Linked DNA regions of Homo sapiens: all the other regions are linked to region 1. Evidence: promoter capture Hi-C in 16 types of primary human blood cells and fetal thymus (Javierre and others, 2016). All regions are on one chromosome and are shown on one strand. Each heading gives the region's core, a stretch centred on a gene start or on the middle of the fragment in contact. The rest is flanking DNA. Distances are from core to core; before and after follow the strand shown. Region 1 holds the start of PIGK (phosphatidylinositol glycan anchor biosynthesis class K). Region 2 overlaps AK5 (adenylate kinase 5). Region 3 overlaps ZZZ3 (zinc finger ZZ-type containing 3). Region 4 overlaps AK5 (adenylate kinase 5).

Region 1 (3,168 bases), core at 111-2,610:
ATCTGTTGAATTAATGAATACATGGAAGATATTCTGGCAGTGTATTTACTTTCTAGGATTCACGTAACGGAAAACCTAAATTTGACTAAATAGCATGAAACCTCTCACAAAGTGCAATAGCAAAAGAAACAAATAAAAGGAAAAGAGAGACAAGAGAATGGGAAAAGCAATAGCATAAAATATGGCAAAGGCTAATGTTACTTATTTATAAATATATTATTCAAATTCATATGCAAAACATAAATATATAAACAAAGAATTTACATCAGAGGACACAGAGATAGTTTAGAAACACAAGAAAGACATCAGATCTTGATAGTAACCAAAGAATTATAAGTATAGTTACCTAGGGGTAACATTTCATACCAAAGAATTTAAAGGAAAAAAAATGGTATGGTTTGGTGTTGTGTATTCTGATAGTGCTGTAAGCTTGTTCATTTTGGAAAGCAACATCATTTATAGTTATTAAAATGTTTTGGAATATTTTGACCCCAAATTCCTAGTTCAGGAAAATTATACAAACAAAATAATTCAACAGATTTAAAAAGCCAAACACACAAAAGATACTCTTTACAATATTATTTTCATAGTAAAACTTAAAAACTTTGCATTGTGCAGCAGAGGGACAATTACTTTGGCTGAGGCATCAATAATGGATGGAATTTTATCTCACCATTAAATGTTAAAATTGTGAGGAAGCAGCGTGGAAACGTTTATGTCATACTAGATGAAATGCATAAATTAAAACTGAACTCACATAATAAAGAGAATGGTGGACCATACATATACACCAGCTGTGTCTCTTCCAGATAGGCTTTAGTTCCATAATTACAGAAGATACTCAAGAAACAAAAACGTAACTAGCTTCCCATGTTAATCCTTTCACCAGGTAGTAGACCCCAAGCCTCTAAATTGCAGCGCCCACCCACATTTTCCATTTATAGTTTATCCAATTAATCATCTTTTTGTGCCAAAACGCTTGTTCTTCCCACCACATCCAGCTTCATATTTTCAAAGAATTGGCAGCACTCGGCAAAATAAATAAATAAATAAATAAATAAATAAATAAAATAAATAAGGGAACAGAGAAATAAGTTTTTAAAGTTTAAGGAGTTACGGGTTTTCCCTCCACTCACCTTTCAATTTTTTTTCTTAAATGTTATACCTATTTTACAACCTCCAAACTGAAAATGCAGTTAAAAATAAAAAGGTCAATATCCTGCGTCTACCTTGTCCCGGACTCTCGAGCTCCACAAAACCGCAGAGTTCTAAAGCCGGACCAGAGGGCCACCTCGAAGAGGCGCGGATGGTGTCGCAAAAACCCGCAGCGCTACTTTACGGCACTGCCTCCGCCCCTTCAGGTGCGGGAAGTCTGAAGCCGGTAAACATGGCCGTCACCGACAGCCTCAGCCGGGCTGCGACTGTCTTGGCAACTGTGTTGCTCTTGTCCTTCGGCAGCGTGGCCGCTAGTCATATCGAGGTAGGAGTCAGGCTCATTTGACCACAGCCGGGAGGCCGGCTGTGAGCCCTCCAGCAGATGTCCGATACACAGTAGCTGAGGGACGCCTCCTGGAGTCAATCAGCCCCTGACCCAGGCTGGGTTTGAGGAGGGTATCACTGGGCACGGGTTAGGACACTGTTGGTCTGTTTCAGCGTTTTAAAACGATGAATTGAAATAATCAAACCCTCGGAGACAGAGGAGGACCTGATCCTTTGCTCCTACATGTGTGCAGTTCTTAGGTGAAATACGAGCAAGAGGCTCGTGAAATGTCAGTGTGCAGCAACTGCTTTCCTACTACTCAACTGCAGCCCTCTGTTTTGATAGGAGTCAGACGGAACTGGAGAGATGAGGGCAATTTTAAGAATCCAGATAATAGAATTTAGTGATAATTAGAACATGGGATAAATATAAGTGTTTATTAAAACTCTCAAGTTTCTGGCTTAGGGGCAACACGTCTGGGTTAAGAAATGGAAGAGAAAAGGGGTGCTTAGTTTTATCCTGGGCTCCTCCAGCTTCCCATTTTTAAACGTGGACACAGGATGTTCTGGTGCTCTATAATGCTTTTACTATTCACCATACTCTGATGATTCCTCAGTCCCGGTCTACAATCTAGATGTCTGGTATCTTTTTCAGGCCTGCATATCCAGCTGACTAAGAATCCGGGATAGTCAGGAGACATTTGAAAATCCGTGTGCAAAGTTTTATCTTCTGCTTATCCTACCTCCTCTTAAAAAGACACTGAAAAACTAAGCACCCCTTTTCTCCTCCATTTCTCAACCAGATGTGCTGCTCCTAAGCTAGAAACCTGAGAGTCTTAATCTCTTTATCCCATATTCTAATTATCACTAAATTTTGTGATCTGAGTTCTTAAAATTGCCCTCACCTCTCCAGTTCCACTGACTTAATTCAGGCTGTGATCACTTCTTGTCTAGACTCTTGCGATTACTTTATCTTGTTTTCCATAGGCCTCCATACTCCCTGAGTTTGGTGCTAGATTCGTCTACACGAAATGTAAGCCTGATCAGGTTATTCTTCTGATGAAATCTTTTAAATATTTATTAATTGCATACAGAATAAAGTCTAAACGTTATGACCTGGTGCTTGCCTACTTTTCCAGTGTTCCATATTGGAACCTCTTCTCCCCACCACCTGGGCACCTTGAGCTTAGACCAGTGGACTCCAAACTTTTTGAATACACACCCTATCAGTTAAAAAAAGATATTGAGCATGAACTTCATATATATTTATGAATTACTGTTAATTTATATATTTGATGTTTATATAGCATAATTTTTAGAGAACATAAATATGAGTAAATAGAAGTTCTGTTTCCCTCCTTTATTCTAACTTTGACTGCTTCATCTTGGATACTATTACTGTTTTTTGTAGTTACATAATTGCTGTGCTTTTTCACATTACAATATTTTATACATTGTGTTTCCTCTGTTCATGTGCTAAGATACAGTAAAGGCATAACCTCTGTAGAACGTTTCCCTATCTCTTACCTTTGCCTTTACTCTTGTAATTTGTACACTTGATACAGCACTCATTTACTATAACCCGTGTATGGTTTGTACTGTTATTCCATCATATCTCACTTAGAGATAGGAGCAACAGTTTCCTAAATGTTTTGCCTTGAGTCGTTGTTTTTTCCTTTCAATCTGTTC
Region 2 (3,270 bases), core at 106-2,605, 270 kb before region 1:
ATTCAATTCATGTTTTTTTAATAATAAGGCAATAATGAAATGGCAACATGGCTATAATGAAATAGTGCCAGGCATTGCAATATTGAGTTTTAAGCAAAAATTCTTATTACTCCAGTTTTCCTTAGGAAAATAGATAGGACTATTTTTGTAGTGGTTAAAAATGCACAAATTAACATAAAATATTGCCAAAATACCTCCCAAAGTTCACTACTTAAAAACAGTTTATCACAGCATCAATGCCAATGTACACCAGGCCACGTGTGTCCCAGACACATTGAAAGCTATGGCCTTTGAATGATGTCTTGATCATTATGTTGTTAATACCATACCTCACCTGAAAAGTCAGATGTGTTTCCCAAATTGGAGCACTTCTACCCAAGCTTTGGATATAAATTAGTAGGAATTTAGATTATGTCACATTTTGGGCATAGGCAGGCAATGAAAAATGGAGAAGGGAAAAAGACGCCAGAATAAATGGGCTCATAGCAAAATAATGATCAAGAGATTTAAAAAAAAAAAAAAAGAAAAAAGGAAAGAAATGTACCAGAAAAGGTTGTGAAAAACTGTAGGAACCTGTTAGTGGGACATAATGAGGCCCTTTAAAGGCTATTTTTACATTTTCCAAATAATTTTCAGTTTTCAGAAGTGATTGAGCTCCTGTCTTGTATATCAGTGCAGGTTCTTATATCTTGTATGTGAACAACTGAAGTCCATAGAATCTTTTTCAATCCTTTGGATCATCTGGTCCTACCCTGTGGGAATCCCTTCTTTGTTTTTTGAAAAGTATTTCTTTATAAACAGCTACTGAGCTGCTTTCTTCGGGAACAAGAATATATAGTCACACATTATTCAAAGGGTGGACTGGGTCCGTCCTTGCCACCTTCCCCTTTGGTGCAGATGGTACACTTGCCCTGAACATTTTTTCCACTCAGATGACCATCAGGGCTATCACCTGCTCCCACCTGTGACTACTGCCCTGCAAATGAGCAAGAAACAGCACCAGCTCAGGGGAAAAGTTGCTTTTGCTTGCTCTCAGTGAGAGGGTAGCAGCTTCATGGAGAAAGGAGCATCTGATTAGGCTCCTAATTAACATGAAAACCATCCTGCAAGAAACAGCCACAGCAGCAACAAGCTGCTTGTCAGTTCTAGGCCAGGAATTCCAATTGCAATTTTGGTTGTTATGGAAACAGACCACACTGCTTCTTAAAGAATTCATTATTCCAACAAATATTTGTTGTTCTAGTCATTAAGTAGTACCCAAATGAATGATGTAGACACAAGGGAGGAGGAGCGCAGAGGAGGAAGGATGGTGATTACAGCGGAGTTCTCAGGGAGCTAGAACTTAACCCTGACCTTGGGGCATGATTAATAGGGGAGAAGACATTTCAAGTGAAAGGGCTGGCAAAGTGCGACAAGCTCAAGCGATAATAAGGATGCAGGTGTGGCTGGAGCCAAAGATTGACATGGGAGTGTGGCGGGAAATGGGAAAGACCAGAAGGCCAGTCTAAGAAGTCTGGACCTTTCTGTGGACAAAAAGGATCTAATGGATATGTTAAAACAGGGGAAGAATGCTTTAGGCATATTAATTTTGTCTTAAGGCGAATAGTGAGGATGTCAACCTAGACTCTGGCTAATACTGCAGCCCCAATGTTTTTCGGGTATATGCCAAGACAATAATTTGAAAAGTGACAATCCAGTCATCTTCTCAAATAGACAAAACCACTCTGTTTCACTGAAAGTGAACTCATCAAAACAGCTATGGGTGTGTCTATGACATCTGGAATATTTTCATAAGGTTAAATTGACTTACAATAAAGCAGTCCCAAAATACCATTCTGCCACCTGTCAAGGACATATTTAGAACTAAGGCCTTAATTCTCAGAGTTCAGTATGTACAGTAGAAGAAGAGCAGTCGTTTTCCCTTGTATCACAGTGGCTTTGTACCTTCTATGGCCCAAACAGCAAGCTGAAATCTCTTTTACTAGAAGAGTGACTGATCAGTAAATTGAAATACAGGAGAGTTTTGTTAGATAGAAGAAAAATCTTTTGCTCAGTGCAGCAATTCTTAGAGGGTGGTCTGTGGACCCTTGGAGGTTTCGAGCTTTGTCTAATTCCAAAGATCTTCTACTGTGCTGTTTGACCTTTTGAAGGGCACAGGACTTAGTAACAGGTGAGGTCTTTAGTTATGCCTAGAGAGAAGGAAGTGGCATTTGACAACGCATTTCACAGTTCAACTGTGAGTGTTAAACAATGGATAAATCTGAAGTAATATTACTGCCAAGACAGTAACAACCACCACAAAACATACTGTATTATTTTTGGAAGCTTCTTTGGACCACATTATTAAAAACACAGATTTCTATGTGATAATAAAGGGCTCTGTGATGGTTAATACTGAGTGGACTTGATTGGATTGAAGGATACAAAGTATTGATCCTGGGTGTGTCTGTGAGGCTGTTGCCAAAAGGGATTAACATTTGAGTCAGTGGTCTGAGGAAGGCAGATCCACTCTTAATCTGGTGGGCACAATCTAATCAGCTGCCAGCAAATATAAAGCAGGCAGAAACATGTGAAAAGGAGAGACTGGCCTACCCTCTCAGCCTGCATGTTTCCCCCATGCTGGATGCTTCCTACCCTCAAACTCCAAGTTCTTCAGTTTTGCGACTCGGACTGGCTCTCCTTGCTCCTGAGCTTGCAGACAGCCTGTTGTGGGACCTTGTGATCACGTAAGTTAATACTTAATAAATTCCTATATGTATATATGTATTCTATTAGTTCTGTCCCTCTAGAGAACGCTGACTAATACAGGCTCCTACTGTGAATTCCTAGCTGTCAAGTTTAAAGGGTCTCCCCTTTTCCTAACTTGGCTCCTAATATAAAGATTGAATAGAAAATATAAGACTCTGTATGGTCTGGATGCCAGGAAAATTGATTATTAAAACTTATGTGGAAAAGGGAATTTTAGTAATCTATAGCACAACTAATTTTCCTTTGCAATTATGACATTGGGTTACTCTTCAATAAGAGATATAAGCAATATATAGTTTTACTTTCTGAAAAAAACGTAAAATAAGTGTGGGAAGAGTCCATCCAGTTTCCACAGTTAAGGTCAGCTAGAGGTAAGCAGATGACAACTGGAACTAAGGTAGGTCTCAAGAATTCCCACTGCTTGACACATACTGTTCTCTTTGCCTCCTCTCACCTCCCATTCATCCCTTCACTGGGCCCATCTCTCCTTTTATCTCTCTGCTTAAATGTTACATTCTTAGG
Region 3 (2,995 bases), core at 445-2,944, 360 kb before region 1:
TTGTCATGTTTCCTTAGGTTGCCAGCCGAGTACAGAAGTATTTCATAAAGCTAACTAAAGCTGGCATTCCAGTACCAGGCAGAACACCAAACTTATATATATACTCCAAAAAGGTAAAAGAAAATACATGAAAGTAAACTGTAGATTAAATTTATTAAAGTAAGAATTGCTATGTAAAAATCTACACATTTGACAGAATAGTGTTGTATTTTAAAACTTCTGTTCATTCTAAGCATTTCCTTATATTGTGCAAAAGTGGAGGGTAAGGACTCCATTATTGCTGCTCAGTGAAATTCATGATTCTTCATTATTTTCTTTGGAGTAATGTGAATGAGTGCTACTTGAAAGATTTTAGATTCAAAATATGTTAGAAAGGCCTTTGTGAGGGTAAAGTTTTTAGGATATTTGATTATTTAATAAATCAATCATTTAATAAATTTAATAGATCAATTTCTGTTTTGTAGATAATGCTACATAAATCCAAGAATAGAAAGGTTTATTATGATATTCTAAAGCCAGGCACAGTGGTGTGCACCTGTTGTCCCAGCTACTTGGGAGGCTGAGGCACGAGGAACACTTGAGGCCAGGAGTTTGAGTCCAACTTAGGCAACATAGTGAGGTCCCGTATCTTTAAAAAAATAAAATATTGTATTTAATCCTTTCTACAATTCTTGAAATATAAGTAGTCTTATCATCTTCACTTTACTGACATAATATTAATAGCTAGCTGTTATATTGAGGGCTCTGAGCCAGACTCTACTGTTCTATAACCTTTTATTTGGTAAGGAAACTGGGCCCTCAGGTATGTTGAGTGAATTATCTAGTTGCTTAGCTGCTAAGTCTGGGAACCACTGATTCTCTCCCATTCTGATGCCACACTTTTTCCACTTTTCTCTGTTGCTTTCTACAGTGGAGAAGCTACTGTTTCTTTCCCAAACAGGACACTACATTAAAATGTAGCCAGTTTCGGCCGGGCACGGTGGCTCACGCCTGTAATCCCAGCACTTTGGGAGGCCGAGGCGGGTGGATCACGAGGTCAGGAGTTCAAGACCAGCCTGGCCAATATGGTGAAACCCCGTCTCTACTAAGAATACAAAAATTAGCCGGGTGTGGTGGCACGCACCTGCAGTCCCAGCTGTTCGTTCTTGTAATCGCAAAAAATAAAGACACCTAATTGGCTGTTTTAAATTTTCTTAATAAGTTATCCTGTTACTTTTCCCTCCCCACCACTGACATCTTTCTCATAAAGAGAAGCTAAGAGTATATCTAGTGCTGTTATCCTTCCATACTGAAGCTATTTCATGTAATTTTACATTAAGAATATTGTCTATACAGTTTCATGTTTTACACATTAAAAAAAAATTTTTTTTAACCGAGCTTTGGAAGCTTGTTTTAATTTGCCAATTGTTTTAAATATTTTGGGTTTCCCACCAAATATAGCACAACCTGTGTAGATTTGTAGAGTTCATCCTATAACTGTGGAATATTGGAACCTTACATTAACCTGTGTTTAATGTAAGAGCTCTTATTTTCATGGTTAATTTCTAAGCTAATTTTATAGATGTAACCATGTTTTCATCATTAACACTGGATAATGATAACAAAAGGAATACTGGAGAACGTACATGTGTTTTTTTCCCTTAGGTGTACTGTATTTTGGCTGTGAAGATCTAGTACAGCTATATTTACAATGATTGCTTGCCATTGTTAGAGTTTAAATTTGGAAACAGGTGAAATGATGGTTCTTCATGTAGCTGAGGGTGTTCTTTGTGACTGTGCTATTGATCAAGACAGGCAGGCTGCATAGTGGTGGAAAGTGAGAATTTGGGCACCACATAGGCCTAGTTTATAATCCTGGTTCTACCACTATCTAGCTGCAACACACTGAACAAGAAACTTAACCTCCCTGTCCTCAGTTTTCTCATTTTTAAATTAGAGGTGATGATAACTACGTTATAGGAATGTTGTAAGGATTAAATGACATTGGCATAGAGCAAGCTTGTCCAACCCATGACCCACGTACCACATGTGGCCCACGACAGCTTTGAATGTGGCCCAACACAAATTGGTAAACTTTCTTAAAACATTACAAGAAATTTTTTTTTTGTTGTTTTTTTGTTTTTTTTTTTAGTGTGAGTGTATTTTATGTGTGGCCCAAGACAATTCTTCCAATGTAGCCCGGGGAAGCCAAAGATTGGACAACCCTGGCATAGAATAAGCAGTCAATCAATGTTAGATAAGTATTTTCAGATATTCATAATGTTATAGAAATTTTCCTTTTACTTTTTACTGGATAGTTTTATGTCTGGCATAGGCCACTTCATCCTGTCTGATCTTCTATAAGATGATCATAAGAATTCAGTGCAGCCAGCATTTGACTGCCAAGAGTATGATAAATGCTGGGGATACAAATATAAGCTAGATATTAAACATGTGGTCCATTTTACCGTTGTTGGGGTATTTCCCCTACATTTAAAAAAAATTTTTTAAAGCTAGTTATGCTTTAAAAACGCAGAAAACAGAAAAAGCAACAACATAAGAGTATGCTAAAGGATAGAGTGAAATTCTTCTGATAGACTTGTTGGAAGTAACATTTGTATTTTTATATTTTTGATTCTTGTAATGATTTTTCACTGAACCAATTAAAAATTTGTTTTCTTACTTAGTCTTCAACAAGCAGACGACAGCACCCTCTTAATAAGCATCTCTTTAAGCCTTCCACTTTCATGACTTCACATGAACCGCCAGTGTATATGGATGAAGATGATGACCGATCTTGTTTTCATAGCCACATGAACACTGCTGTTGAAGATGCATCAGTAAGTTATACACATCAAGTTGTTATATACATCAAGGTATAGAAGAGAGTAGGATTTTCTAATTATTTCCACTCTTCAGAGAATGTTGGTTTCTTTTAATGAACAAGTCAAATGTATAGTTTTTAAGTAATGTACTTTTGTGAGGAAAATTTCAAACATATACAAAAATAGAATAG
Region 4 (3,267 bases), core at 574-3,073, 290 kb before region 1:
AGTGCCCGTGTATAGTATATCAGTGAATGAATGATGGACTATCTGTGAGCTTCACAGAGGCAACCCTGTACATGACAAGAAAGTCAATTAGGGGACCTTGGCTCTTGACCACTCCTGCTTTGAACTAGTCGAGTGATTCTGGGAGAGTCACTTTGCCTCTTTGGGTGCTAGCTTCTCTGTCTGTAAAGTGAAGAAGCTGAATTAAATGAGTGGCTTCCTGTGTTAGATTGTATTACTTTCTTAAATATCCCAGCTTTCCTTCCATAGTGCTTCTCCCCATGCCTGTGGAAGGATTACTCATCCCCACCTTCTTCTTTTTTTTTTTTTTGAGATGGAGTCTCGCTCTGCCGCCAAGGCTGGAGTGCAATGGCATGATCTTGGTTCACTGCAACCTCCGCCACCAGGGTTCAAGTGATTCTCCTGCCTCAGCCTCTCGAGTAGCTGGGATTACAGGCACCCACCACCACACCTGGCTGTTTTTCGTATTTTTAGTAGAGACGGGGTTTTGCCACGTTGGCCAGGCTGGTCTCGAACTCCTGACCTCAGGTGATCCACCCACCTCAGCCTCCCAAAGTGCTGGTATTACAGGTGAGAGCCACCGTGCCCAGCCTGCCCCAAACTTCTTGAAGTTAAGAGTTCCAAGGGACTTGTTTTGGTCAATGAAATGTGGGCAGAGGTGGATGTGTACTGGTTTGGAGCAGAGGTTTTTACGCCCAGCACATGGTATGCCAGGTCTTTTCCCTTTGCCATGAGACTGGTAATGTTTCGGCTAATAAGGGCTCCATCAGCATGGTTACCAGAGTGAAGCTGGGGAGTTGTTTGGAAAAATTCCTGAATTAGCAGATCTGTACATCTCTGGGCTGAGGCTTGGGAACTTATAGTTTTAGAAAATTCCCCAGGGAAAGTGTACAGACATCTGCAATTTACTTGGAAGTGGACAGGAAAAAGAGATGTACTGATGGATGAATAGAGGGACAGATAAATAACAAGACAAGATATACAGGTTGGAGCACTCCTTATCTGAAATGCTTGGGATCAGAAGTGTTTTATATTTTAATTTTTTTTTATTTTGGGATACTTGCATTATACTTACTAGTTGAGCATCCCAAATCCTAAAATTCAAAATCCCAAATGCTCCAATGAGCAGTTCCTTTGAGCGTTACGTTGGCATGCAAAAAGATTAGGACTTTGGAACATTTTGGATTTTGGATTTTTGGAGTAGGGATACTCAGCTTGTAGTAAGATGTTGATTGAAGACTAGGTGGTGGGTATACAAGTGTTCACTGTAATATTCTTTCAGCTTGCTGTATGTTTGAAATATTTTCATAATAAAAAAGGATAATTCCCCAGGTGATTCTGATGGTTAGCCTGATTTGGAACTTCTAGATTAGATAATCTAAGGAAGGCAATTTGCTGTGAACTCTCCAATGTCACTGCAGGAAGTCTTTGTTGATTTTTCTTTTTATATTTACAACGTAATAATGCTAAGATAATGGTTCTATCATGAATGAATAATTATTATGATGGTTAATAAAAATCCTTATTGCCTTATCAAAATCAGGGCCATACCTCTCTCTTGCAGATGAGAGGAATTTTTGGTTTTCTCAGCATAAAGCTGGAGAGAATAGTAGGGGAACTGTGGCCTATTTCACACCAGTGGTATAGTTGAGAGACCAAATATGTTTGAGAAGTCATTGCAGACTACTCAGATAAAAGTCACAATACTTTTGGCTTGATATTTTATCTAATAAATATCTGTTTTATGTGTTCTACTTGTAATTATTTAATTCTTACAACAGCTATTTGAAACAGGTGCTGTTTGTAATCCTATAACAAGATGAAGAAACCATGCCAAGGGCCAACTGTGTCCTGGTACCATTAAACTCTACAGCCTCTCATATGTGGGGCACTTCTGGCCTGTCTTTCTGGAAATCAGACAGACCTCCTTTGGGAAATGCACTGCACAGCCTGCAGTTGACTGGAATGGTCACTGGGAGCTGGGCTTTCATCATGGCCCCGTCAGGTGGCCAGATAAAATACAGGACACCCAGTCAAATCCTGCATGAGACTTAGACTAAAGGCCATGTCACTGTTTATCTAAAATTCAAATCTAACTATGGCTCTTGTATTTTCATTTGTTAAATCTGGCAACCTTATCAGGCCCCATTATTTATTAACTATGTGGTTTTTTTTTTTGAGACTGAGTCTCAACCTCTTACCCAGGCTGGAGTGCAGTGGTGTGATCTTGGCTCACTGCAGCCTCTGCCTTCTGGCTTCAAGCGATTCTCCTGACTCAGCATCCAGAATAGCTGGGATTACAGGCTTGTGCCACCACGCCCAACTAATTTTTGTATTTTTAGTAGGGATGGGGTTTCGCCATCTTGGCCAGGCTGGTTTCGAACTCCTGGCCTCAAGTGATCTGCCCGCTTCAGCCTCCCAGAATGCTAGGATTACAGGTGTGAGCCACCGTGCCCGGCCCCATTAACAATGAATAGTAGACTTTAGGGATGTGATTTCATCTATGTTCTAACTAACACTCTATGATTTTACAATTCATTCAGCCAACACCCACCATAGCCACAGCGAGATGTGAAATCCCTCATTAATCAAGACTCTGAAACCAAATGCCATGACTCCAGCTCTTACATGGACAGAAAATGAGGAAGGTTCAGGTCTCAGGTGACAGGAAAGGGCAGATACCTTTCCTGGTGCCTGTTGGTGGTGGTTCTGAAATGTTTTTACCCCATGAAGCTGGTGACCTCCTACAGCTCACAGCACCCTAACCCCATCTTCACCCTACCCCCATCTCTGAACAGAGACACAGACAAGATTTCCAAACTGCTCATAAGAAAACACCATTAAATCACTTGTCCTTTCAGCTGAATATGAATCTACAGAAAAATTAAAAAATTAAAAAAACCCCAAAAAATGAAAAAAAACAACCAACCAACCAACCAACCAACCAACCAACCAACCAAACACCGATCCTTTGTTTCTTCACCCAGAGGTCTCCAGCGCCTGTTCCAGACCCAGCTCATCAAGCACATTTATTTTTCCAAATTGACAGACCAGAGCTGCTTTTCAAAAGTCACTTCACTCAGGTTCTGCTTGCCTGGGTTTCTGAATTCTTGGAATTCATTGTTCTAGAGTGCCCTGCCTCTTCCAGATTTTTAAACACACCATTTTTCCTACTTTGTAGCCTACTTTGTACTAGGTCTTAGGCATATATTAAGTGTATAGAATAGGAAATTACAAATTTACCTCCTC

Evidence for each region. The method cuts DNA at HindIII sites, captures the fragments that hold promoters and counts their contacts. A CHiCAGO score of 5 or more calls a contact.
Region 2: a fragment that was not itself captured here is called in contact with the fragment with the promoter of PIGK in region 1 in 1 of 17 cell types (naive CD4 T cells); the score reaches 6.5 in naive CD4 T cells.
Region 3: a contact is called between a fragment that was not itself captured here and the fragment with the promoter of PIGK in region 1, in 1 of 17 cell types (naive CD4 T cells). The highest score is 5.0, in naive CD4 T cells.
Region 4: a contact is called between a fragment that was not itself captured here and the fragment with the promoter of PIGK in region 1, in 2 of 17 cell types (non-activated CD4 T cells and monocytes). The highest score is 6.5, in non-activated CD4 T cells.

What each region holds. Positions count from the first base shown.
Region 1 is chr1:77,217,622-77,220,789 of GRCh38, reverse strand. PIGK (phosphatidylinositol glycan anchor biosynthesis class K) reads left to right here and starts at 1,360. Exons shown (of 11, transcript NM_005482.3): 1 at 1,360-1,480. The coding sequence starts at 1,388. It overlaps LOC105378808 (a long non-coding RNA gene), which reads right to left and starts at 1,270. Exons shown (of 3, transcript XR_001738109.2): 1 at 1,137-1,270; 2 at 1-2. RefSeq lists an enhancer at 1,567-1,676. The HindIII fragment of the contact is 2,966 bases long and covers 432-3,168 here.
Region 2 is chr1:77,488,036-77,491,305 of GRCh38, reverse strand. All of the region lies in intron 10 of AK5 (adenylate kinase 5), which reads right to left. Among named protein-coding and RNA genes, the nearest start is that of ZZZ3, 190 kb to the left of the region's middle. The HindIII fragment of the contact is 1,945 bases long and covers 383-2,327 here.
Region 3 is chr1:77,575,892-77,578,886 of GRCh38, reverse strand. ZZZ3 (zinc finger ZZ-type containing 3) reads left to right here. Exons shown (of 15, transcript NM_015534.6): 11 at 18-113; 12 at 2,667-2,819. Among named protein-coding and RNA genes, the nearest start is that of ZZZ3, 110 kb to the left of the region's middle. The HindIII fragment of the contact is 612 bases long and covers 1,389-2,000 here.
Region 4 is chr1:77,505,928-77,509,194 of GRCh38, reverse strand. The region is part of intron 10 of AK5 (adenylate kinase 5); the gene reads right to left. Among named protein-coding and RNA genes, the nearest start is that of ZZZ3, 180 kb to the left of the region's middle. The HindIII fragment of the contact is 4,094 bases long and covers 1-3,267 here.